6 separate regions of the Homo sapiens genome follow, and all the other regions are linked to region 4. Evidence: promoter capture Hi-C in 16 types of primary human blood cells and fetal thymus (Javierre and others, 2016). All regions are on one chromosome and are shown on one strand. Each heading gives the region's core, a stretch centred on a gene start or on the middle of the fragment in contact. The rest is flanking DNA. Distances are from core to core; before and after follow the strand shown.

Region 1 (2,700 bases), core at 88-2,587, 300 kb before region 4:
TAAAATGATGAATAAGAGAAGTCAGCTCCTTGCTCTCCTGGAGCTTTTATTCTAGTGGATGGGAAACACAGGTAGGTCAGAAAATTTTAAAAAGCTTTCTTTTTCTTTTTTTTTTTTTAGAGACAGGGTCTCACTCTGTCACACATGCTGGAGTACAGCAGCGTGATCGTAACTCACTGGACTCAAGTTATTCTCCCGCTTCAGCCTCCCAGGCGTGTGCCACCACACCTAGCTTTGTGTGTGTGTGTGTGTGTGTGTGTGTGTGTGTGTGTGTGTGTGTGTGTAGAGAGAGACGGGGTCTTACTATGTTGCCCAGTCTGGTCTAAAACTGGGCTCAAATGATCCTCCTGCCTCAGCCTCCCAAAGCACTGGGATTATAGGCATGAGCCACCACAACCGCCAAAAATCTTTAGTAATAAGAGCCATGCAGAGAAAAGAGAGTAGCTATTTTGTAAAGAGGTAGGGAAGGCCTCTGTGAGGAGGTGACATTTAAATTGAGATCTGGATCATAAGAAGGAACCATCTCAGAGGGAGAGCATTCCAGGCAGGAGGTATGAGAGCAAAGGCTCAAAGGTGGTCATGAGTTTGGCCTGTTAGAGGAACAGGAAGAAGATGCATGGCAAGGGATGGGAACATGGCAGGAGATCAAGGTAGAAATGCAGGGGCCAGATCAGGCAGGGCCTTCTAGGTCATGAACATATGGGAATCCACTGGAGTGTTTCAAGCAGGAGAAGGAAATGATCTGATTGGTGTTTTAAGATCATGCTGACTTCCTTATGGAGAGTGGATTGGTGGGCAGAGGGATGGTGGAGAAAAGTGTAAAGATTAAGGATATGTTTGGTGATGAAGTCAACCAGATAGCCTGATAGATTAGATGTCATGGATGAGGTAAAGAGAGGAATCAAAGATGGCTTCTATGTGGGGGTTGAACAACTGCATGGATGGTGTCTGTTCAGGCTGCTACATCAAAATACCTTAGATTGGGTGGCTCATAAACAACAGAACTTTTTTCTTATAGTTCTTGAATGTGAGTCAAAGATCAAGGCACCAGCAGATTCAGTATCTGATGAGGGCTCACCCTCTACTTCATAGATGGCACCTTCTTGCTGTGTCTTCACATGGCAGAAGGGGCAAACAAGCTCCCTGAGGCCTCTTCTGTATGGGCACTAATCCCCTTCACCTGGGCTGTCTCCTAAAGTCCCCACCCCTTAATACCACTGCACTAGGGATTAGGTTTCAACATATGAATTTTGGGAGGAGAAGGGGGGCCAACATTCAGACCATAACAGATGGGGATGCCATTTACAGAACTGAGGAAGGCATTGGGGGAGTGAATTTGGAGGAAACGTTGAGTTGTTTTGAACATGTCAGTTTGAGATACCTACTAAACATCCACATAGTAGTGTCAAATAGACAGTTGGATTTATGAGTCTGCAGTTCTTAAGAGTAGTCTAATCTAAAGATATAGAGTCAGAAATATTGTCATTGTGCATACCCACCTAGGCCGAGCACAGTGCCTGGCATATAGCAGCCAGCCTAAAATTTGGGTGGGTTGGTTGAATGAATGAATGAAATTCTTAGAGCTTCAGAATGAGATAGATCTTGGTTCAAATTTAAATCCTGGCTCTGCTACTTACTAATTTAACCTTGAATAAGGTATTAAACCTTTCAGAGCCTCAATTTCCTCACCTGCAAAATGGAGATAGTGATAATACTTATCCCATAGGGTGGTTGTAAGGATTATACTAAATAAACCATGTAAATCACCCAAGGTGCTTAGTACAGTCCCTGGTGCATAGTAAGCACTCAGTAAATTGGTGGCTGTTACAATATTCAAAATATGAGATAGGCCCCAAGAAAGCAAGCCTTGGAGAGACACTCCAGAGGGCAGCCCCACAGGGTGGGACAATGTAGCTCAGCTATATGTGTGAAGCAGTAATGCCTAGTGGGTAGGTGTTGCTCCCTTGAGCCAAACTGTCTGGGTTTATAATCCTGACTCAGCCACTTAGTAGCTTACTTAACCTCTATGTGCCTCAGGGGGGTTTAGAAATTATTATTATTTAATCTCTAAAATAGGGATAATAATAGACCTACCTCATAGGGCTGTTGTGAAGGATTAAGTGAGATAATCCATGAAAAAGGCTGAGAACAGTGCCTGGTTCATATTAAGGGCTCAATCAATGTTAGGAGCTATTATCACAGGGATGTAGGAGGGAGGGGGATGCAAACAGGCTTCAGCTGTGCCCTTGACCTCCCTCCAGAGAAGACAGTATTCAGCCCTGCCAGGCAGCAGAGCCCGTTTCATGCAGCTCTTCTCTCCCAGCACTCTCCTTCCTACTCCTCCCCGGCTGTGGCCTCCCAGTTTTTGCAACTCCCTGAATAGCTTATGAACCTTTGCCAGGGTTGGTGTGGAAAAGGCCAACTCCTCCAGTAGAGAGGGCTGCAGAAGCTCAGCCTCCCTTCACACTGGGGGAAGTGTTAGCCACAGGCTACAGGCAAAGGGAATCCAGATCCCCAAGCTGCCTGAAGTTATCTAGAAGCAGAGAGAAATAACCAACTGAGACAGTCCCAGAGGGCCCCCCAAGCTTCTTTTCCATTTAAATGCTCTCTTTGTTACTAAGAAGCAAACCTAGCCCATCCCCACTGGCACCAGCCTGCCCATTGTTTCCCTAAGAGACCATCCCAAGCCAAGTGCTGGGG
Region 2 (2,700 bases), core at 128-2,627, 320 kb before region 4:
GCATGCAAGGCCCTGCATAATCTAGCCCCTACCCACTTCGCCAGCCTCTTCTCTTGCCTCTTATCCTCTTTCTATCTGCAATGCCATGTCCCTCCTGTCACAGTGCCTTCCCAATACTTTTTCCTCCTACTGAATGATTCTCTGCTCTACCCTGTCTTCTCCTGGCTAATGCCTATCATCAATCAGCTCATCTCTAATGTCAAATCACTCCTCCTCAAGAGATGTTTTCCTTGGCCCTCAGACTGGCTGAAATTCCCCTGTAATCGCTTCTCATAGTTCACAATTCAGTTTGTGTTCAGTTAATGTCTGGCTCACCCCATCCACCCCTCACTGTCCAACTAGACTGAACTCCATAAGGGCAGGGGCCATGGCTGTCTGGTTTCATGACTGTGTCCTCAGCATCTAGCCAGTGTCTAACTCATAGTAGGTGTTCAATCATTTTCCCAATCAATGCATATATGAATGAATGAATGAATAGGTCTGAACATCTGTGCTTTGCTCCCTCAAGTTCTTCTAAAAAATGAGAAAACAATGTTTCACTCCCAGGGTTGAATAAGAATCAAAACAAGAGAATGAAAGGGAAGGAGCTTTATAAACCATGAAACGCCTTACTAATTTGAGGAATCATTACAATACTGGCCAATGTAACCATTCTTCTGGGGGAGTGGGAAGTGCACTGTGCACGACTTAGGGGTAGCAGGAGGAACAAGGGTGGAGGTGGGGAAGGATACTTGAGTTCTACATTCCTCTGGATAAGAAGAATTTCTGTGGCTCTGCTATGTAGGATAAAATTACAAGAACATTCAATTCCCCTGCTTCAGGCTTGAAGCTTATAACTGATCACCCTCTGGGATCAAGAAGAAAATGCCATTCTGCTCAGGTGTAAATATTGCCCGGAGTCACCTCGGGTATTTAGGATTTTGACTGTCTTCCTTTAAAGCATCTGACCCAGGTGCAGGCTGAGGATAGGGTGACAGCCTCCTGGGCTGGATCCCTCTTGGCTGGTGCTTCCCATGAGGTGATCCATCAGCCGTGGCACTTGCTTAAGGCACTGCCCAGCTGACAAACGGCTTTGAAGTGTGCCTTTTGGCTTTGCATTCTTCCACTTCCTGGCCTTCTTGGCTTTCACTGTTAGCAGGCAGGCGGAGGGGTTGGCGGGGCTGGGTGGGGGGGCGGGGGAGGTGGTATCACCTCCTTCCTCTTGCTCCTCTAGCACGTCCATCTAAAAAACATCCCAGGAGGCTTGACATTCCAGGTCTTTAGTTTCTTACATTTGATTTCCCTAGACCCCATCAAGTCATAATCTCCTTCCTGCAGGGAAGGGATACTTCCACCTCTTCCTCCATATCCTCTTAGCTCCTTGCATTTGGGTCAAGAGACCTAAAAAGGCCATTTCTTATTTCCATCTTGTCTTCCATTGTTTTATCCCCTGGGATATCTCTGCATTCATGGCCCTGAGATGCCTCACTGGTCTGGAATGCTCAGGGCAAGCCGATCCTCTGAATCATAGACAAAGAAACTGGAAAGAGGAGTGCTCATTAGGCTGTCATTTCCCCAGTTTCCTCCACTGACCTGGATGTCTTTCCACTGGTTTGGTGGTGTGCTTCCCCACTCTGTCCCACTGGATTTTGAGGTTCAGTCTACACAGCCCCAGAGAGGTGAATAACAAAAGCATGTCTACGCATAATCCAAGCAAAATCCTCAGTTTTGTCTCAATGATTTGGGCATCCCAGTACAAAGGACTACTTCAGTAGCAGGCTTTGGGATAATTTTCTCTAATAGTTACCACAGAATTGAAGCTGGAAAGGACCTTGAAGTTTATCTGTTCAAAGACACCCTCCTTTTTTGTTTATAGCGCTATAGAGGTATAATTGACATACAATACCTGCACAAGTTTCATGCAGTGTACAAAAGTGTACAATTTGCTAAGCTTTTACATATACATACTCTCATGAAACCATCACCACTATCAAGTTTTCATCAATCCCTACAGTTTCCTTCTGCCTCTTTGTAAACTCTCCATCCAGCCCCTCCCCTCTGCTCCATCTCCAAGCAATCACTTGGGGATAATGCTTTCAAGCAGTCACCTGGGGATGGAGGAGAGGGGAGGGGCTGGAGGGAGGGTTTACTTGTTAATATATAGTTTGCATTTTCTAGAATTTTTAATAAACAGAATAACACAATACGTACTCTGTTTTTGCTGGCTTCTTTCACACAGAAAAATTATTTTGGGATTTATTCCTGCTGTTGTATGTATTAACAGTGTTTTGTGTATCAGCAGGTCATTACTTTTGAATGGCTGAGTGGTTTCCACCATATTTTGTTTATTCATTCATGTGTTGATGCACATGGATGGTTTTTTTTTTCTAGATGTTGGCTATTGCCAATAAAACTGCTATGAATATTCATATACAAGTCTCTGTATGGACAAAGACTTTCATTTCCCTTGGGAAAATACCTAGGAGTGGAATGCTAAGCCATATGGTAGATGTCTGTTTAACTTTTATAACACTACCAAACCATTTTTCAAAATGGTCATACCATTTAACATTCTCACCAGTAGTGTATGAGAATTCCAGTTCCTCCATATCCTCACCAACACTTGGTGTGGTCAGTCTTTTGTTTGTTTTCTTTATTGTGGTGAAAGGTATATATAACAAAATTTACCATTTAGACCTTTTTAAGAAGACTTCATTTACA
Region 3 (2,700 bases), core at 171-2,670, 270 kb before region 4:
CAGAAAAACCTGAGAAACTGTCATAGCCAAGAGGAACCTAAGTAGACATGATCATGATTAATTGAAGTGGGATCCTGGAATAGAAAAAGGTGTGAATGGGAAAACTGGGAAAATCCGAATGAAGTCTGTAGTGTAGTAGTATTGTACCAAGGTTAATTTCTTATGTTTGAGAAATATATTGTGTTTATGTCAAGTGTTTATGAAAGGTTGGATGAAAGGTCTATGGGAACTCTCCATTTCACAACTCTTCTATAAATCTAAAATTATTTTAAAACAAAAAGTTTTTAAGAAAATACCAGGCCGGGCGCAGTGGCTTATGCCCGTAATCCCAACACTTTGGGAGGCTGAAGTGGGCAGATCGCCTGAGGTCAGGAGTTTGAGACCAGCCTGGCCAACATGGTGAAATCTCATCTCTACTAAAAATACAAACATTAGCCGAACATTGTGGTGCACGCCTATAATCCCAGTTACTCAGAGGTTGAGGTAGGATAATCACTTGATCCCAGAGACGGCGATTGCAGTGAGCCAAGATCGTGCCATTGCACTCCAGCCTGGGCAACAAGAGCAAAACTGCATCTCAACAAAAATAAAAGAAAATACTCAACCCAAAAGAGGGCAAAAATAGAGGAAAAAGTTGACAAAGAATAGAAAGGAAGAATAGAAAACAAATAGAGAAGTGGATGACCTAAATTCAACAATATCAATAACGACATCAAATGTGAAGGGACTCTAAGCAGTACAATTAAAAGTTAGAGATTGTCCTACTGCATTAAAAAGAAAATTGGACTCAACATTTGTTTCAAGCATATGTTTTAAGCATAAAGACACAGATGGGTTAAAACTAAAATGATAAAGATGCACCAGGAGTGGCTATGTTAATTTCAAAGTAAGCTTTAAGACACAGAATATTACCAGGAATAGACATGTTTAATGATAAAACAGTCATCAGGACAATATAACAATCTTAAATGTGTATGTCCCTAATAACAAGCTTCAAAATACATGAACTCAAAACTGACAGAATTGAAATAAATAGACAAATTTGCAACTATAGTTGGAGAGTTCAACAGTTCTTTCTCAGTAACTGATAAAATAAGTAAACAGTAAATCAGTAAGAGTATATAAGACTTAACATCTTGACAGGAGTGGTGGCTCACACTTGTAATCTCAGCACTTTGGGAGGCCGAAGCAGGCAGATCACTTGAGGTCAGAAGTTTGAGACCAGACTGGCCAATGTGGTAAAACCCCGTTTCCACTATAATAAAAATACAAAAATTAGCCAGGCATAGTGGCAGGCTCCTAAAATCCCAGCTACCAGAGAGGCTGAGGCAGGAGAATCACTTGAGCCTGGGAGGTGGATGTTGCAGTAAGCTGAGATAGCACCACTGAACTCCAGCCTGGGTGACAGAGTGAGACTCAGTCTCAAAACAAAACAAAAACAAACAAACAAACAAAAAAACCCACTTAAACAGCACCCTCAATCAACCTGACCTAATTGGCATGAATAGAACACTGCACCCAATATCTGCAGAATACACAGTCTTCTCAAGCACATATGGAACATTCTCCAAGATAGACCATAAGCTGGACCATCAAACAAGTCTCAATAAATTTAAAAGGACTAAAATCATGAATGTATGTTCTCTGATCTCAACAGAATTAAATTCAAAATCAATAACAAAAAAGATATCTATGGAATCCTTAAATATTTGGAAATTAATGACACACTTCAAAATAATCCATGAGTCAGAGAATAAATCAAAAGGGAAATTGAAAAGCATTTTTAAATGAATGAAAATGAAGACAGCATATAAAAATTTGCGGGATGTCACTAAAGCAGTATTTAGGGGGAAGCTTATGGCACTCGATACCTATATTAAGAAAGAAGAAAGGTCTTAGATCAATGACCTCAGCTTTGTTAAAAGAAAAACTCTAGACAAATTAAATTTAACAGAGTTAAATTCAGCAAAGACCAATTTGCAAATCAGGCAGCTTCCTAAACCGGAATAGATTTAGAGTGACTCCAGCACTGCCATGTGGTTGGAGAAAATTTATGTACAGAAAAAGGAAAGTGATGTACAGAAAACGGGAGTGTGGGCTGGGCAGAGTGGCTTACGCCTGTAATCCCAGAACCTTGGGAGATCAAGGCTGGTGGATCGCTTGAGCCCAGGAGCTCCAGACCAGCCTGAGCAACATGGCGAAACCCCATCTCTACCAAAAATAGAGAAATCAGCTGAGTGTGGTGACACACGCCCATAATCCTAGCTACTCAGGAAGCTGAGGAGGGAGGATTGATCGCTTGAGACCCAGGAGGCAGAGGTTGCAGTGAGCCAAGGTTGTGCCACTGCACTCCAGCCTGGGCGACAGAGTGAGACTCTGTCTCAAAAAGAAAAAAAAAAAAAGAAAAGAAAAAGAAAATGGAAGTGAGGTACAGAACCAGCTGGATTAATTACAGCTCAATGTTTGCCTTATTTGAACACAATTTGAACAGTTGGCCGCCTGTGATTTGCCAAAACTCGGTGACTCGTACAAGAGCAGGTTACAGTTTGTTTACACATCCAGTTAGGTTACAGTTCACTATGCACACAGAAACCTTTAGGCCGAACTTAAAACACGTAAGGAGGCAATTTCATGCTAAACTTAACAGTTTCAAGCTTAAAAAGCTAGAAAAGGAAGAATAAATTAAGCCCAAAATAAGTA
Region 4 (2,700 bases), core at 162-2,661:
CTGGATTCTGCTCTCGTAGTGGGGGCCGCGGACCCTCCCCGCCACAGTCCTTTTACTCTCCAGCACTCCCACCGCCTTCCCCCTTCTTCAGCCATCTGACTCTCCTAGGGGTATGTGTTTTTGGGGGTGGACGGCGACGGGGGTGGGGGATACTTTCCTTCCCGTGGCGGCAACCTAGTTCGTATCTTATTCCTACAAGGTAGCGTCGCTTCGAGTCGCATGGACATTGGGGTTTAGATAATTTACCCCCCACCCAAGCGATTTAATGGCTTTTAAGCAAAAGGCGAATACCTGGATTTCCATGGGAGGGATGAGGTTTGAAGATTGGGATTCACCCCTAGCTCACTTCCACTACCAACCCCTCTTTCTTGTGAGCCACTTCCACGGGTATTCAAATCTGGGGGGGAGGGGGGACGGGAGTATTAATATGCTTCTCTATTTCTACACAGGGTCGGCGTGGCGAAGGACGGCTAGCCTTGGAGGGAAAGTAGCCACCAGTCCAACTCGGGTCGCCCCCACCATTATTTCGGTGAGGGGGCAACGCTAAGAAGGGGATACTGGTGGGTAGGGGCCCAGTATAAGGGAGGGGGCTGGGTAGTCGTCCCCAGAAGGACTCCGTGTCTTGGCGGGGAGAGAGAGAGGCGAGCCCCGGCTTCAGGGGAGGGGTTCCGGGGAGGGAGATGGGGGGGTGGCGACGACGGTGGGGGGGGGAGCGGGAAGAAGGGGGAGTCACGCCCTGCCTGCAAGGGGAGCCTCCCTCAGGCCCCTGGGAGAAGGGGACTGAATGCGTCTGTTCTCCGCTGCCCGGCAGAGGAGATCTGGGGTCTCGAGATTTGCACACTGGATCGGCACCAGTGGCCTGAGAAAGTCAGGTCGGGGCATAAGGTGGAGAACGTTGGAAGAAAGAGAGAGAACCCTTTGGCCGCGGCTCACTGACCCTCTCCCTTCCTCAACCTCCCCCTTCGAGGGGCGTCGAGGTGGGGGGGGACGTGGGGCTCCTGCAGCCCCGCAGATTGAGCGCCTCCGCCTCTCCCAGGAGTCTAGCTTTTTGCCCGGCTTGCTGCAGCCACTGCTGCCTCCCTCTCCGGAATCCGCTCGGTCCTCTCAGCGATCCCCTCCTCCTCTCCTCCCCTCCCAGTGTCACCGGGGCTGCTTGGCTCTGCCCCCTTCGCCGCCGCTTGCTCCCTGCTTTCGTCCCTCCCTCTCTTGCTCGCTCCCTCCCTTCGCCTCCTCCTCCCCATTCCCCCCCACCCGCGTAGGCCGCATTCTGGGAGTTGTAGTCCGGTGGAGCGGGGGTTGGCGCCGCCCGCGGACCCAGCCGGACTCCACTTCCCGTCGAGCCCTGCGACCGGCACCCACTCCACCAGGCTTCGCTCGCACACAGACACACACACACACCGCTCTCCCCCTCACTCTTTCGCTCGCCGCGGCTGCTGCCAGTGTGTGGCTCTGTCTCTCCTCCGCTTTGCTGAGCCCTCCCTTCTTCCTCTCAGTTCCTAGAGTCCGACCGCCGCCGCCGCCGAGAGAGAGGAGAAGGAGGTCGGTGGCGATAAGGGGCGGAGGGGGGCATCAGATCGGGGCAGTATTAGGCGGGTGGCGGTTAAGAGGGAGTAAGAGGGAGCCCGGGTGGCGGCCTGAGCCTCCCCGCGGAGCCGACCCGGGAACAGGTGCGTCTTTTTTCTCTCTCCCCCAATCCCTCCACCCCTTTTGACTCCCCGGCTTTTTCGTATCCCCCCACCCGCTTCTTTCTATCTTAAGCCTTTCTCCAACCCTGTTCCTTCTTTTCCCTGCGGCCGCTCGGCTTGCCCCCCGGGGGCGCCGTCCTCTTCGTGTCCCCGGACGTAGCGCTCCCTGGAGCTGGGTATGTCTTCGCCCCTCCCTTCGGGACAGCTCCCTTCCACTTCCCACCTTCGTACCCCATCCCCTGACTTGCCCTACCCCCTTCTCGACCCCCTTCTCTCTTAGCCAGGTGAGACTCGTTCGCCACGATCCAAGAGAGTCTTCTTCCCGGCTGGGCGGGGGTCTCCATGGAAACGGGGGTCGGTTGATCCTGGGGGGGAAACCATAGGAATTACCCCACTCCTCGGAAAGGGAGGTGGAGGCTATGGTCTTGTTAACTACCTGACTCCAACCCCCGATCCAAGGATCCGACGATCCGAAGGGAGGCTGGCTAGCAGGGCAGGGCGAGAAAAGGCTTTTTTTTGGGGGGGGGGGGTGTCCGTGATGAAGTGTTGAAGAGACCGGGAGAAAATGCCCTCCAACCTCAGAGGGGAGGTGCGACGGGTGCTCTTCAGGGCTGCTTTCTTCCCGGCGCTGGGGTGCGGGAATCGTAGGGTAAGGGGTACCCCTAGGTGGCGGCGGGGCCTGGGTTCGGGAGTGGGAGTGCTGTGATGGGGGCAGGGGCAATTATCCGAGTCCCTGGAAAAAAGGCGGGGGATGACTTCGGAGCGCCCTGGCTCCGCTGCCCTCGCTCTAGGGGCGGGGGCCGCCGGGCCGGGCGCGGCGGGGAGGGGGCTTAAATTGAAGGAAGATGAGATCGGGGGCAATTCATACTAGCACCGGCAAGCCAGAGGGGAGATCCGGCGTGCAAGCCCTCCACCCGCTTCGCGCCAGGCCTGGAGGCAAGGGGTCGGCGAGCGAAGCCGAGGGCTGGAAGGAGGGAGGCTCCGGTTACGGGGCCGGGTTTCGGGATCAGGGGCA
Region 5 (2,700 bases), core at 25-2,524, 360 kb before region 4:
TGGGCAGCATTGTCTGGGCTGGGTCTGGTCAGAGGGGCATGGCTACTTTTTCTTGATCCAGGCCTGGGGTGAGTGTTGCTACTGCACCCCTTAAAGTGCTGTGAGACCCATTGTCCTCCAGTGCTTAAAGACTGAGCTTGAAGTCACCTTCCTTTTCCCACTCTAAGCCACCTTCCCTTAGAGTGGAAGAAGAGGGAAGAGTTATATCCTCATGGCCTTCTTACCACCCACGTTCTGCAGCTCTGAGCTTGGTCTCTGCTTTCACACTGTTGACCAAAGCACCAGACCTAGACCCTTTCTCAGTTCCCACCAAGAAAATGTGAGTAGTGGAATCTACTAAAGATCTTTGGTGGGATGAAATCCTGGGAGGTGGATGTGGTCACCTCACACAGTGGACAGCCTTCCCACACCTCTCTGGCTCCTCTGTCCCCTTTTCTCCCTGCTCCTCTCTTTCCCTCCAGGGTTTCCGAAGTTGCTCCAAATTCTTCCCCTGCCCCCTGAGGCCTTGGCACCTATAAAGGGTATTAAATCAGGGATGGGTATCACTTTCTACTCTTCAGAGCTTATCTAAGTATTTTTTACCAACATAGGTAGTCTTGCCCTGTGCATTCTGGTGCCAGCCCTTAAGCAATATATGAGCAAGGCCCTTCCTGTCTCTGGACCTTAGTTTCATGATCTGTAAAATGGACTGGAATCACTAGACCAGCCCTGTCCAATAGATAATAATGCAATATGTAATTTTAAATTTTCTAGTAGCCACATTGAAAAAAATAAACTGAAGAACTTAGTTATTTTTATCCTTTAGAGTAGCCACGGGGAAGCCACTGAGGAATTTTTAAACAGTGTTATTGAGATACAATTTACATATAATAAGGTGTTCATATCTAAAGTGTACAATTTGACACGTTTCGATATATGTAGACCTCCCTGAAACCATCACCACAATCAAGAGGGTGAACCACATGCAACATTCCCGGAAGATTCCTCGTGTCCCTTTGTAATTATGTATATTTAATAGTATATTTTTAATTTAATTTGGTATATCCAAAATATTATCATTTTAACATGTAATCAATATAAAATATTAGTGAGATCTTTTACATTCTTTTTTTTTTTTCATAGAAAGTCTTCAGATTCCATTGTGTGTTTTACCCTTGGAGAACATTCTGTTTTGTGGTAGCCACGTTTCAAGTGCTCCATAGCCACATGTGGCTCATGGTGACGGTTCTGGACAGCAAGGTCCATGTGATCTGTAAGCACCTTTCCCTCTCTCATGTTGAAGGCCTCCATGTGTCTATATTTCCTGACGTGTGTTCTTATCATTGATTACTACTGCTGTTGCTGCTGTGTGCACAGCCCAGGAGGTGGCCTTGCTGCCTGCCATCTGGTGGGGACCCATAGTCCCCACCACCCCACCTCGGCTGGGGCAATTGCAGGAAAACCACTTGTTGGAAACCCTCTTATACCATCGAATTCCAGAGTAGGCTCTGGATGGGGCCATCTCTGTTAACAACAGAGTTGAGGTAGATCAATTGTAAGGTGTGTTACTAATAAAAAGTATCAAAGTTTGCAAAGAAGTGACTTTGCATCATAAAAGAGGTTAGATTCAAGATTATTCTTATTACAAATAAGGGAGGCGTTATCCCTAGAATAAAGTCACTTTCCCTCTGACCCATATTCTTAAATGGGAGAACAAAGGGGGCAGAGGATGCTATTGCTTCTATGCTGGGAACCTTAGCCTGTCTTCCCTGTGCTAAAATCTTGAGCGACGTGAAGGTTCACTAAGGGAGTGGCCATGATTACTACAAATTTGGAGGACAGGTTATTATCACAACCTATGTCAATGGGAGCATGCTTAGAGGGCGCTGCACTGCAAAAAATATGGAGGAAACATGTAACAGGGGACTAAGGTGAGACAGATTCTCCAGACAGAGAGGCCTCAATTTGCCTGGGGCCTGGTGCTATTCGCTGAAGCACCTATAGAAGACTTGGAGGCTAAGCAATGCCCAGTTAGCCCGCCCTGGTGTGGGCCCAGTGAAACAGCAAGAGGGTAAGTACACCTTCCAGGCCCAGATGCCCTCAGGACCAGCCCTACTTTTGGCAAAGGAAGCATAAGCCTGGGTTCAGGCAGGGAAAGAGCTACAGACAGTTGTCTTTGGCTGGCACAGTAGTTCACATCTATAATCTCACCAATTTGGAAGGTTGAGTCAGGAAGATTACTTGAGACCAGGAGTTCAAGACCAGCCTGGGCAACATAGAAAGACCCCCATCTCTACAAAAAATAAATCAGCCGGGTGTGGTGACACCGGCCTGTAGTCCCAGCTACTCAGGAGGCTGAGGCAGGAGGATTGCTTGAACCAGGAGGTCGAGGCTGCAGTGAGCCATGATCGCACTACTGCATTCCATTCTGGGTGACAGAGAGAGACCCTGTCTGTAAAAACAAAAACAGAAAAAAAGACAATGGCCTTAATCTCCCCCTGCTTTCCCTAGGCCTAAAAGGTACCCTGCCTTTTAGGCAGGGTGAATCGGGTGGGGGCTGCCTGCCTTCCTCAGAGAGAGGGAAGGAAGCAAGGAGTAGGGGGTCTGACTGGGGCCCTACAGCTCCCAACCTCAAGACCTGCCTTTTGAGGCCATAGAGAAGCTGCAGCTTTGCTTTTGCAGCTGCAGCGGCAGTGAAGAAAGCAGGAGGGCATCCTGAGG
Region 6 (2,700 bases), core at 126-2,625, 340 kb before region 4:
CTGAGCTAGAGGGTAGCCCAGAGTAGAGGGAAGGATGAAAGAGGATAATCAGATCAGAAGGTCTCTGCAGTGCTGGAGGTGGAAGGGGCTGTGTGGTGAGATTCCCTCCTCCATCCCCCTGCACTCCTCACTGGGACCTTTTTCCTCCCTGCTTTGTTTATCCTCTCTTATCTTTCCATATCCCTCACATCTGAGGAGTTGGGAATTTCCAAAGGAGAGAGGAACTCCAGGCTTCCAGAAAGCTCAGGAGCCTAGAGACATGGGGGATGAAACCCCCCATAACGTATGCCAAAGTCACCAGCCTCTATCCCTACACCTGCTGGGGAGGGAGCCAGAGATGTCTCTGCCTAGATGGAAAAAGAGGCACCCTCTTTCCAACAGGCCTCTCACAGCCCCCAAATCACAAGCAGTTCTGTTGCCCTGGGACTGAGGGTGCCAAAGCGAAGCCCCTCCCCTACAGACGAGAGGTGACTGCAGCCCTGGAGGGAATGCTTGGCATTTCAGCAGTGCCTTTGCCTTCCTTTAAAGCAATGCCACCTTGTTTCTCTCAGTTCGTTTGCACATACCACAGAAGATCTTTAGACTAATGGCTTACCTTCTCAGTGACTCAGTTTCCTCAGCTATAAAATGGGATTGTGATGGGGACTGACTAAGTCAGGACAGGTGAAGTTCCTCAAACAGTGCTTGGCACATGAGAAGCGCTCTACATGAGTTTGCTAGGACTATCTAGCTATGTTCCTTAAGCGTTCACTTATCCTTTCTGAGTCCCACTTTCTTCATTTGTAAAAATAACAGGGCTTAGGGTACTGAATGATCTCTCAGGCTCATGTCAGCTCTGCCCTTCTATGATTCTGTGTGTTTAAGGTAGGGAAAGCAGAGATTGTCATCCTATGAAAATAGATGAGGGAGAACCAGGACCCCTGATAGATGAACAGACCTGCCTGGAGTCACACAGCCAGTTACTGACCAAGCTGGGGTTAGGATCCAGAGCTCAGAACCCCAAGTTTCACACCACCAGGCTAGCTCTGCAGCAGTGTGCCAATTTTTTAACATTCAGGGAAGATCAGAAAGCATTTAATTTGTGCAAAGGGAGAAGTATGGAATGGAGGTTCCAGCAGGCCCTGGGGTTATGGGAAGCTTGTGCAACCCACGTAACCCAGCAGTGGACTTCCTCACTGGCTTAGGTTCCCATTTTCCTGCCATATGCCTAATTCTTCTCCCAGAGCTCCTCCCTACAGGTCCCTGGGTCAGGTCCTGAATTGCCTCTGGAGGGCAGCCTGAATCACCCCCCACTGTTAGCTGGGACCCCAACAAATCCCTAGTCACAAGCAGGTGCTTCACATCTACCCACCCAGGTGTCCTGGGCAGGTGAGGAGGCTGAGACCCAGAAAGGGCCAAGGAAAGACTTTGCTAAGCTACCCAGCAAGCCCTGGGTAGAAGCAGATTCAGGACTGGAACCCACGTTTCTGAGCCCCTGGCCTTGTGCAGAAAGGAACCCCAATGGCCAAGCAGGTGTGCTGGAACAGGTGCCTGGCTCCACAATTCCAGACAGATCAGGTGCTAATGGTGAGCACTTAACACCTTTGGAGAGGCCTCCTGGGCTGCTGCCCAAGCTAAGCTTCTACAAGGAAAAATGCCGAGGACGTAATCTGTCCCTGGGGAGGCCCTAAAGGTTATCTGGGAGACCGGAAATTTCTAGTGACTGAGGCACACTCATGGTGGGAAAGAGGACCCTTAGCAGAAGCAGGGAAGCTATCATAGTTTGTTTTCTGTAGCCACAGACTGGGTAACTTATAAAAAAAATAGTTTATTTAGCTCACAGCTCTGGAGGCTGGGAAGTCCAAGGGCATGGCACTGGCGTCTGGTGAGGGACTTTTTGCTAAATCATGACGTGGTAGAATGGCATCACATGGCAAGAGGGCAAGAGTGTGCCAGCTCAGGTCTCTCTTCCTCTTCTTATAAAGCCACCAGTTCCATCATAGGGGCACAACCCTGATGACCTTATTTAATTTTAATTACCTACCAAAGGCACCACCTCCAAATACCATCAACATATGAATTTAGGGATTAAATTTCCAAAACATGAAGTTGAAGGATGCATTCAAACCATAGCAGCAGCTGACCTGAGCCGGGGACAGACCCAGGTTTGAAGCTCTACTCACCCATGAGTGGCTCTATGAATTTGAACAAGTGACCTCACCTCCATGAGCCTGATTTTTCATCTATAAATTGGGGTAATGATGGCTGCCCTGTCCAGTTCTCAGGGCTAGAATGAGGCTTAACAGAGATAATAATAGCTCCCACTTGGTAGGCTTGTAACATGGGCCGGGCACTGTGCCAAACACTTTCCCTGCATCATCGCGGTCAATCCTGACCACAGTGCTATAAATTGGGCAGCAGCATCCTGCCTAAAGCAGAAACATGGGCTCATCCAGATCAAGACCCTTGCTGCAAGGTCACACAGGTGAGTAAATGGTAGTGCCAGGATTTGAACCCTGATCTGACTCCAGACTTCCCCTTCCACTGGAATCACTTTGTTAGTATGATTATTATCAGAGGCCATCTCATAACCAGTGTATTAAATCACTTAATTCTACACCTTGCTGCAGAATGTAAGTCTTCCCCTTGGACTCCAGGCAAGGGTTCAGGGGCTGAGTTGAAGGGCTTGCTGATGCTTCATTTGAGACAGGGCTGGGAAGC

What was found. Contacts are between HindIII fragments. The CHiCAGO score rates a contact against its expected background, and 5 or more counts as called.
Region 1: a fragment that was not itself captured here is called in contact with the fragment with the promoter of BCORL1 in region 4 in 3 of 17 cell types (naive CD4 T cells, total B cells and naive CD8 T cells); the score reaches 5.9 in naive CD4 T cells.
Region 2: a contact is called between a fragment that was not itself captured here and the fragment with the promoter of BCORL1 in region 4, in 7 of 17 cell types (total B cells, activated CD4 T cells, naive CD4 T cells and 4 more). The highest score is 11.1, in total B cells.
Region 3: a contact is called between a fragment that was not itself captured here and the fragment with the promoter of BCORL1 in region 4, in 9 of 17 cell types (activated CD4 T cells, M0 macrophages, non-activated CD4 T cells and 6 more). The highest score is 10.2, in activated CD4 T cells.
Region 5: a contact is called between a fragment that was not itself captured here and the fragment with the promoter of BCORL1 in region 4, in 13 of 17 cell types (activated CD4 T cells, naive B cells, fetal thymus and 10 more). The highest score is 12.7, in activated CD4 T cells.
Region 6: a contact is called between a fragment that was not itself captured here and the fragment with the promoter of BCORL1 in region 4, in 10 of 17 cell types (activated CD4 T cells, non-activated CD4 T cells, total B cells and 7 more). The highest score is 16.5, in activated CD4 T cells.

The regions. Positions count from the first base shown.
Region 1 is chrX:129,684,286-129,686,985 of GRCh38, forward strand. No RefSeq gene overlaps it. Among named protein-coding and RNA genes, the nearest start is that of APLN, 31 kb to the left of the region's middle. The HindIII fragment of the contact is 2,491 bases long and covers 93-2,583 here.
Region 2 is chrX:129,665,009-129,667,708 of GRCh38, forward strand. No RefSeq gene overlaps it. Among named protein-coding and RNA genes, the nearest start is that of APLN, 11 kb to the left of the region's middle. RefSeq lists an enhancer at 1,324-1,618 and a silencer at 1,324-1,618. The HindIII fragment of the contact is 1,101 bases long and covers 828-1,928 here.
Region 3 is chrX:129,710,941-129,713,640 of GRCh38, forward strand. No RefSeq gene overlaps it. Among named protein-coding and RNA genes, the nearest start is that of XPNPEP2, 27 kb to the right of the region's middle. The HindIII fragment of the contact is 863 bases long and covers 990-1,852 here.
Region 4 is chrX:129,981,224-129,983,923 of GRCh38, forward strand. It overlaps BCORL1 (BCL6 corepressor like 1), which reads left to right and starts at 1,412. Exons shown (of 14, transcript NM_001379451.1): 1 at 1,412-1,539. RefSeq lists a silencer at 2,241-2,477. The HindIII fragment of the contact is 8,398 bases long and covers 1-2,700 here.
Region 5 is chrX:129,620,185-129,622,884 of GRCh38, forward strand. No RefSeq gene overlaps it. Among named protein-coding and RNA genes, the nearest start is that of APLN, 33 kb to the right of the region's middle. The HindIII fragment of the contact is 3,328 bases long and covers 1-2,700 here.
Region 6 is chrX:129,639,795-129,642,494 of GRCh38, forward strand. No RefSeq gene overlaps it. Among named protein-coding and RNA genes, the nearest start is that of APLN, 14 kb to the right of the region's middle. The HindIII fragment of the contact is 481 bases long and covers 1,136-1,616 here.